Regions from separate parts of the Homo sapiens genome. Here region 2 is linked to region 1. The links are contacts of gene promoters, found by promoter capture Hi-C in blood cells and fetal thymus (Javierre and others, 2016). All regions are on one chromosome and are shown on one strand. Each heading gives the region's core, a stretch centred on a gene start or on the middle of the fragment in contact. The rest is flanking DNA. Distances are from core to core; before and after follow the strand shown. Region 1 holds the start of IL1A (interleukin 1 alpha). Region 2 has its middle 24 kb from the start of IL1RN.

Region 1 (3,421 bases), core at 361-2,860:
TCACAATGTGCTTTGCAATTGTTCCTTAGCAATAGCCCTCACAAGATTCTCAGGAGGAGAGGGTTAATCAGGATTAACATTTCTGTGTTGCCTAAAGAGGAACCAAGGTAAGCAGAAATGTAGCCAGTTGGCTGGCATCACTGTTGCTTCAGGATTCATCCTTAGACACCCAAGCTTCTACCCTAGTCTGGTGCTACACTTACATTGCTTACATCCAAGTGTGGTTATTTCTGTGGCTCCTGTTATAACTATTATAGCACCAGGTCTATGACCAGGAGAATTAGACTGGCATTAAATCAGAATAAGAGATTTTGCACCTGCAATAGACCTTATGACACCTAACCAACCCCATTATTTACAATTAAACAGGAACAGAGGGAATACTTTATCCAACTCACACAAGCTGCTTTCCTCCCAGATCCATGCTTTTTTGCGTTTATTATTTTTTAGAGATGGGGGCTTCACTATGTTGCCCACACTGGACTAAAACTCTGGGCCTCAAGTGATTGTCCTGCCTCAGCCTCCTGAATAGCTGGGACTACAGGGGCATGCCATCACACCTAGTTCATTTCCTCTATTTAAAATATACATGGCTTAAACTCCAACTGGGAACCCAAAACATTCATTTGCTAAGAGTCTGGTGTTCTACCACCTGAACTAGGCTGGCCACAGGAATTATAAAAGCTGAGAAATTCTTTAATAATAGTAACCAGGCAACACCATTGAAGGCTCATATGTAAAAATCCATGCCTTCCTTTCTCCCAATCTCCATTCCCAAACTTAGCCACTGGCTTCTGGCTGAGGCCTTACGCATACCTCCCGGGGCTTGCACACACCTTCTTCTACAGAAGACACACCTTGGGCATATCCTACAGAAGACCAGGCTTCTCTCTGGTCCTTGGTAGAGGGCTACTTTACTGTAACAGGGCCAGGGTGGAGAGTTCTCTCCTGAAGCTCCATCCCCTCTATAGGAAATGTGTTGACAATATTCAGAAGAGTAAGAGGATCAAGACTTCTTTGTGCTCAAATACCACTGTTCTCTTCTCTACCCTGCCCTAACCAGGAGCTTGTCACCCCAAACTCTGAGGTGATTTATGCCTTAATCAAGCAAACTTCCCTCTTCAGAAAAGATGGCTCATTTTCCCTCAAAAGTTGCCAGGAGCTGCCAAGTATTCTGCCAATTCACCCTGGAGCACAATCAACAAATTCAGCCAGAACACAACTACAGCTACTATTAGAACTATTATTATTAATAAATTCCTCTCCAAATCTAGCCCCTTGACTTCGGATTTCACGATTTCTCCCTTCCTCCTAGAAACTTGATAAGTTTCCCGCGCTTCCCTTTTTCTAAGACTACATGTTTGTCATCTTATAAAGCAAAGGGGTGAATAAATGAACCAAATCAATAACTTCTGGAATATCTGCAAACAACAATAATATCAGCTATGCCATCTTTCACTATTTTAGCCAGTATCGAGTTGAATGAACATAGAAAAATACAAAACTGAATTCTTCCCTGTAAATTCCCCGTTTTGACGACGCACTTGTAGCCACGTAGCCACGCCTACTTAAGACAATTACAAAAGGCGAAGAAGACTGACTCAGGCTTAAGCTGCCAGCCAGAGAGGGAGTCATTTCATTGGCGTTTGAGTCAGCAAAGGTATTGTCCTCACATCTCTGGCTATTAAAGTATTTTCTGTTGTTGTTTTTCTCTTTGGCTGTTTTCTCTCACATTGCCTTCTCTAAAGCTACAGCCTCTCCTTTCTTTTCTTGTCCCTCCCTGGTTTGGTATGTGACCTAGAATTACAGTCAGATTTCAGAAAATGATTCTCTCATTTTGCTGATAAGGACTGATTCGTTATACTGAGGGACAGCAGAACTAGTTTCCTATGAGGGCATGGGTGAATACAACTGAGGCTTCTCATGGGAGGGAATCTCTACTATCCAAAATTATTAGGAGAAAATTGAAAATTTCCAACTCTGTCTCTCTCTTACCTCTGTGTAAGGCAAATACCTTATTCTTGTGGTGTTTTTGTAACCTCTTCAAACTTTCATTGATTGAATGCCTGTTCTGGCAATACATTAGGTTGGGCACATAAGGAATACCAACATAAATAAAACATTCTAAAAGAAGTTTACGATCTAATAAAGGAGACAGGTACATAGCAAACTAATTCAAAGGAGCTAGAAGATGGAGAAAATGCTGAATGTGGACTAAGTCATTCAACAAAGTTTTCAGGAAGCACAAAGAGGAGGGGCTCCCCTCACAGATATCTGGATTAGAGGCTGGCTGAGCTGATGGTGGCTGGTGTTCTCTGTTGCAGAAGTCAAGATGGCCAAAGTTCCAGACATGTTTGAAGACCTGAAGAACTGTTACAGGTAAGGAATAAGATTTATCTCTTGTGATTTAATGAGGGTTTCAAGGCTCACCAGAATCCAGCTAGGCATAACAGTGGCCAGCATGGGGGCAGGCCGGCAGAGGTTGTAGAGATGTGTACTAGTCCTGAAGTCAGAGCAGGTTCAGAGAAGACCCAGAAAAACTAAGCATTCAGCATGTTAAACTGAGATTACATTGGCAGGGAGACCGCCATTTTAGAAAAATTATTTTTGAGGTCTGCTGAGCCCTACATGAATATCAGCATCAACTTAGACACAGCCTCTGTTGAGATCACATGCCCTGATATAAGAATGGGTTTTACTGGTCCATTCTCAGGAAAACTTGATCTCATTCAGGAACAGGAAATGGCTCCACAGCAAGCTGGGCATGTGAACTCACATATGCAGGCAAATCTCACTCAGATGTAGAAGAAAGGTAAATGAACACAAAGATAAAATTACGGAACATATTAAACTAACATGATGTTTCCATTATCTGTAGTAAATACTAACACAAACTAGGCTGTCAAAATTTTGCCTGGATATTTTACTAAGTATAAATTATGAAATCTGTTTTAGTGAATACATGAAAGTAATGTGTAACATATAATCTATTTGGTTAAAATAAAAAGGAAGTGCTTCAAAACCTTTCTTTTCTCTAAAGGAGCTTAACATTCTTCCCTGAACTTCAATTAAAGCTCTTCAATTTGTTAGCCAAGTCCAATTTTTACAGATAAAGCACAGGTAAAGCTCAAAGCCTGTCTTGATGACTACTAATTCCAGATTAGTAAGATATGAATTACTCTACCTATGTGTATGTGTAGAAGTCCTTAAATTTCAAAGATGACAGTAATGGCCATGTGTATGTGTGTGACCCACAACTATCATGGTCATTAAAGTACATTGGCCAGAGACCACACTGAAATAACAACAATTACATTCTCATCATCTTATTTTGACAGTGAAAATGAAGAAGACAGTTCCTCCATTGATCATCTGTCTCTGAATCAGGTAAGCAAATGACTGTAATTCTCATGGGACTGCT
Region 2 (3,576 bases), core at 184-2,683, 320 kb before region 1:
TTTCTATATATGTTCTCCCTCTACCCACAATGCGCTTCTAGCCAGAAACTCATCCACCCCTGAGCCCAGCTACGAGGCTACCTCCTCTGAAAGATCTCCTCCGTGCATTCCTCTATTGGTGTTACAACTTCCTTTCAGGGTTCCCATGTCTTTGTTTTTATATCTACATCACTACACTGTGTTATGGTAATTTGTGATTCCATCTGTTTTCCCACTGGGACTGGGAGTTTCTCAAAATCAGAACTATGTTTTAATTCATGGCAAAATAAATCAGATGTGGGATTTGGAGTTGGATAAACCTGGTTTTAAATTTCAGCTGGACCACTTACTAGCTACATGACCTTGCCCAAGTTACTGGGCCTTTCTGACCTTCTGTTTCTTATCAGTCCCATTATCAGTATAATGGGACTCAAAAAGAACCTGTCTCATAAAGCTCTTTGGCACACACTAAGTGCCCAATAAATGTTAGCCATGTACTCAGGCTTGTGGGCTACTGGGGTAAAGCAAGACCAAAGTCTTTGACTACTTGCTCAGCACCATACATAGAAACTAAAGGGAGGTGTTGAAATCCCAAAACGCCCCAGCTGCCTGAGCCAACAAGACTCCAACTCCAAGTCATCAGTTACTTTTCCGTCTCCTGGGAGCACTCAGACACTGCGGAAATCCCTTTGCATACCTTTTGCCCCCACCATGAGAAGGCCCAGGAATAGACATGTGGGGGCAGGAGGAGTCAGATTCTCTACCCACTACCCAGCCTTTCATCCCTCCCCTCACTGGGCCAACAGTCAGTGAGTCACTGCTAACATCCCCCAGAACACCCACTAGTCTTAGAGCTGGTGACTTCATGCTGTGAAGAAATTTTCCTCTGAGAAGCATCTCCTCCAGGTTACCAAAGATTCACTCCTCTCCAAGTACCATTGCCCTGAACTTTATTTACCTCTAACCTTTCAAAGTGACCAGCTAACACTGACAATACCTCTGCCTCACTTTGCATGTTACTAAGACTCCAGACATTTCTCAGGAACTCTCTTGACTTCCTTCCTCAGTGCTTCAGTAGAACCATAGTACCATGTAATGATGAAAATCACTCTGTCTAGTCTTAGTCACATCTCTTAACCCCTGGCCACTTACATGGGATGCTTAACTGAGAAAATTTGGTTTAAGAAAAAAAAAAAACACCCCTTGATGCCATAAAAATTAAATAAAATAACTTGGTGAAAGAACTAAAAACCTTGTAGGTACTCAACACATATTGAATATTACCTACTTTCTCCCTTTCAAAATATTGTTGCTCCTTCCTTTCTTTCTTTGAAGTCTGAGCTTTTGATGGACAGTTCCCCAATAATATTCATATGACACCCAGAATGTCCCAAACAGAATCCATCACCTTCCCACCCCACCCTCTGCTCTCCCCAACCATCTTTCTTCTGATTGCTGTATTTCTGTTGATAACACAACCCTTCTTGTATTAGTTTCCCATTGCTGCTATAACAAATTACCATAAACTTTGTGCCTTAAAACACAAATTTATCCTCTTACAGTTCTATAGGGCAGAAGTCTGACAGAGGTGACACTGGGCTCAAATCAAGGTGTCAGCACTGCTGTGATCTTTCTGGACTCTGGGGGAGAATCCATTTCCGAATCATTGCTAGCTGCTAGAGGCCACCCACATTCCTTGCCTCATGGCGGCATCACTCCAACCTCTCCGTTTATCAGCACATCTCCTTTGCAATTCAATCTCCTGTGTCCCTATTTTGAGAACGCTTGTTCTTACATTGGACACAACTGGATACTCCAGGAGAGTCTTTCTATCTTGAGATCCTTAGTTTAATCCCACCTGCAAAATCCTTTTTTCTATGTTAGGTAACACTTTAATTGACTCTAGACAGTAGGACACAGATGTCTTTGAGGGCCATAATACTACCTACTGCACTTCTTTCAGACTCCCAGGCCTGTGATATCAGGACCACCTGTGACTCCTCCACCTCCATTCCAATCCCATCTCCCCTCACAGGATGGAGTGATAGCACCAGGCCATGTGCCCACTCTGATCTACTGATACAGGCTGCCTGAACTATGATGCTGAGGACTGTGAAGTTGTGTCTTTGATTCCAAGAAAGTATTGTCCGATCAAGTAGTCATGTCTGCCGTGGGCATGGGATGTCAGGTCAGCATGAGTACTTTGCACCTCTATCCCAGCTCCTTCTGTGCCTTGTCAGGCCTCTGAGCCCAAGCTAAGCCAATGTATGCCCTGTGACCTGCACATATACATCCAGATGGCCTGAAGCAAGTGAAGAATCACAAAAGAAGTGAAAATGGCCAGTTCCTGCCTTAACTGATGACATTCCACCATTGTGATTTATTCCTGCCCCACCTTAACTGAGCGATTAACCTTGTGAAATTCCTTTTCCTGGCTCAGAACCTCCCCCACTGAGCACCTTGTGACCCCCACGCCTGCCCAAAGAGAGAAACCCCCTTTGACTGTAATTTTCCACTACCTACCCAAATCCTATAAAACCTCCCCACCCCATCTCCCTTCGCTGACTCTCTTTCAGACTCAGCCCACCTGCACCCAGGTGAAATAAACAGCCTTGTTGCTCACACAAAGCCTGTTTGGTGGTCTTTTCACACAGACGCACGTGACACGCCTGACCTCTCCTTCCCATGCCTACAGGCTTCCCCCTTCCCCAATTAGAGCTGCTTGTCCAAACCATTGCAATAGCTCTGTGTGAACTGAATCCCTCCACAATCCACATATCAAAGTCCTAACTCCCAGTGTGGCTGTATTTGAAGATAGAGCCTATAAGAAAGTAATTGAGGTTAAATAAGGGTGGGGCCCTAACACAATAGAATTGGTGTCCTTATAAGAAGAGGTAGAGACACCAGAGAGCTCTCACTGTCCCCGTGCCTGCACAGACACCAAGGAAAGGCCACAGTGAGAAGGTAGCTGTCTGCCAGCCAGCAAGTGGATGATCTGAGACTTGATCACAGCCTCCAGAACTGGGAGCAAATACATTCTTCCTGTTGGTTAAGCCACCCAGCCTGTGGTATTTTGTTATGGCAGTCTGAGGTGACTAAGACAATCTCCTTAAGAAAAAAAGTCTCGGGCGGGGCACGGTGGCTCACACCTGTAATCCCAGCACTTTGGGAGACCGAGGTGGGCAGATCACCTGAGTTCGGGAGTTCGAGACCAGCCTGACCAACATGGAGAAACCCTGTCTCTACTAAAAATACAAAATTAGCCGGGTGTGATAACGCACACCTGTAATCCCAGCTACTTGGGAGGCTGAGGCAGGAGAATCACTTGAACTGGGGAGGTGGAGGTTGCAGTGAGCCAAGATCACGCCATTGCACTCCAGCCTGGGTAACAAGAGAGAAACTCCATCTCAAAAAATAAAAATAAAAAAAGAATAAAAAAGTCTCTCTTCCCCAGCTCCAATCTGCCTTCTATGCTACTGCCAGATCTTTCAGAGCGGTGGTTTCTACATGTTGGTCCTTAGACCAGTGCCAGTTTTAATGATGAGCTAAATTAAATTAGAAAATCGAGAGCCCAGGGCTTGATATTTAAATATGTTG

What was found. Contacts are between HindIII fragments. The CHiCAGO score rates a contact against its expected background, and 5 or more counts as called.
Region 2: a fragment that was not itself captured here is called in contact with the fragment with the promoter of IL1A in region 1 in 1 of 17 cell types (neutrophils); the score reaches 5.4 in neutrophils.

Annotation. Positions count from the first base shown.
Region 1 is chr2:112,782,682-112,786,102 of GRCh38, reverse strand. IL1A (interleukin 1 alpha) reads left to right here and starts at 1,610. Exons shown (of 7, transcript NM_000575.5): 1 at 1,610-1,660; 2 at 2,325-2,379; 3 at 3,339-3,387. The coding sequence starts at 2,333. The HindIII fragment of the contact is 4,198 bases long and covers 177-3,421 here.
Region 2 is chr2:113,101,597-113,105,172 of GRCh38, reverse strand. It overlaps a transcript of IL1RN not described here. Among named protein-coding and RNA genes, the nearest start is that of IL1RN, 24 kb to the left of the region's middle. The HindIII fragment of the contact is 5,174 bases long and covers 1-3,576 here.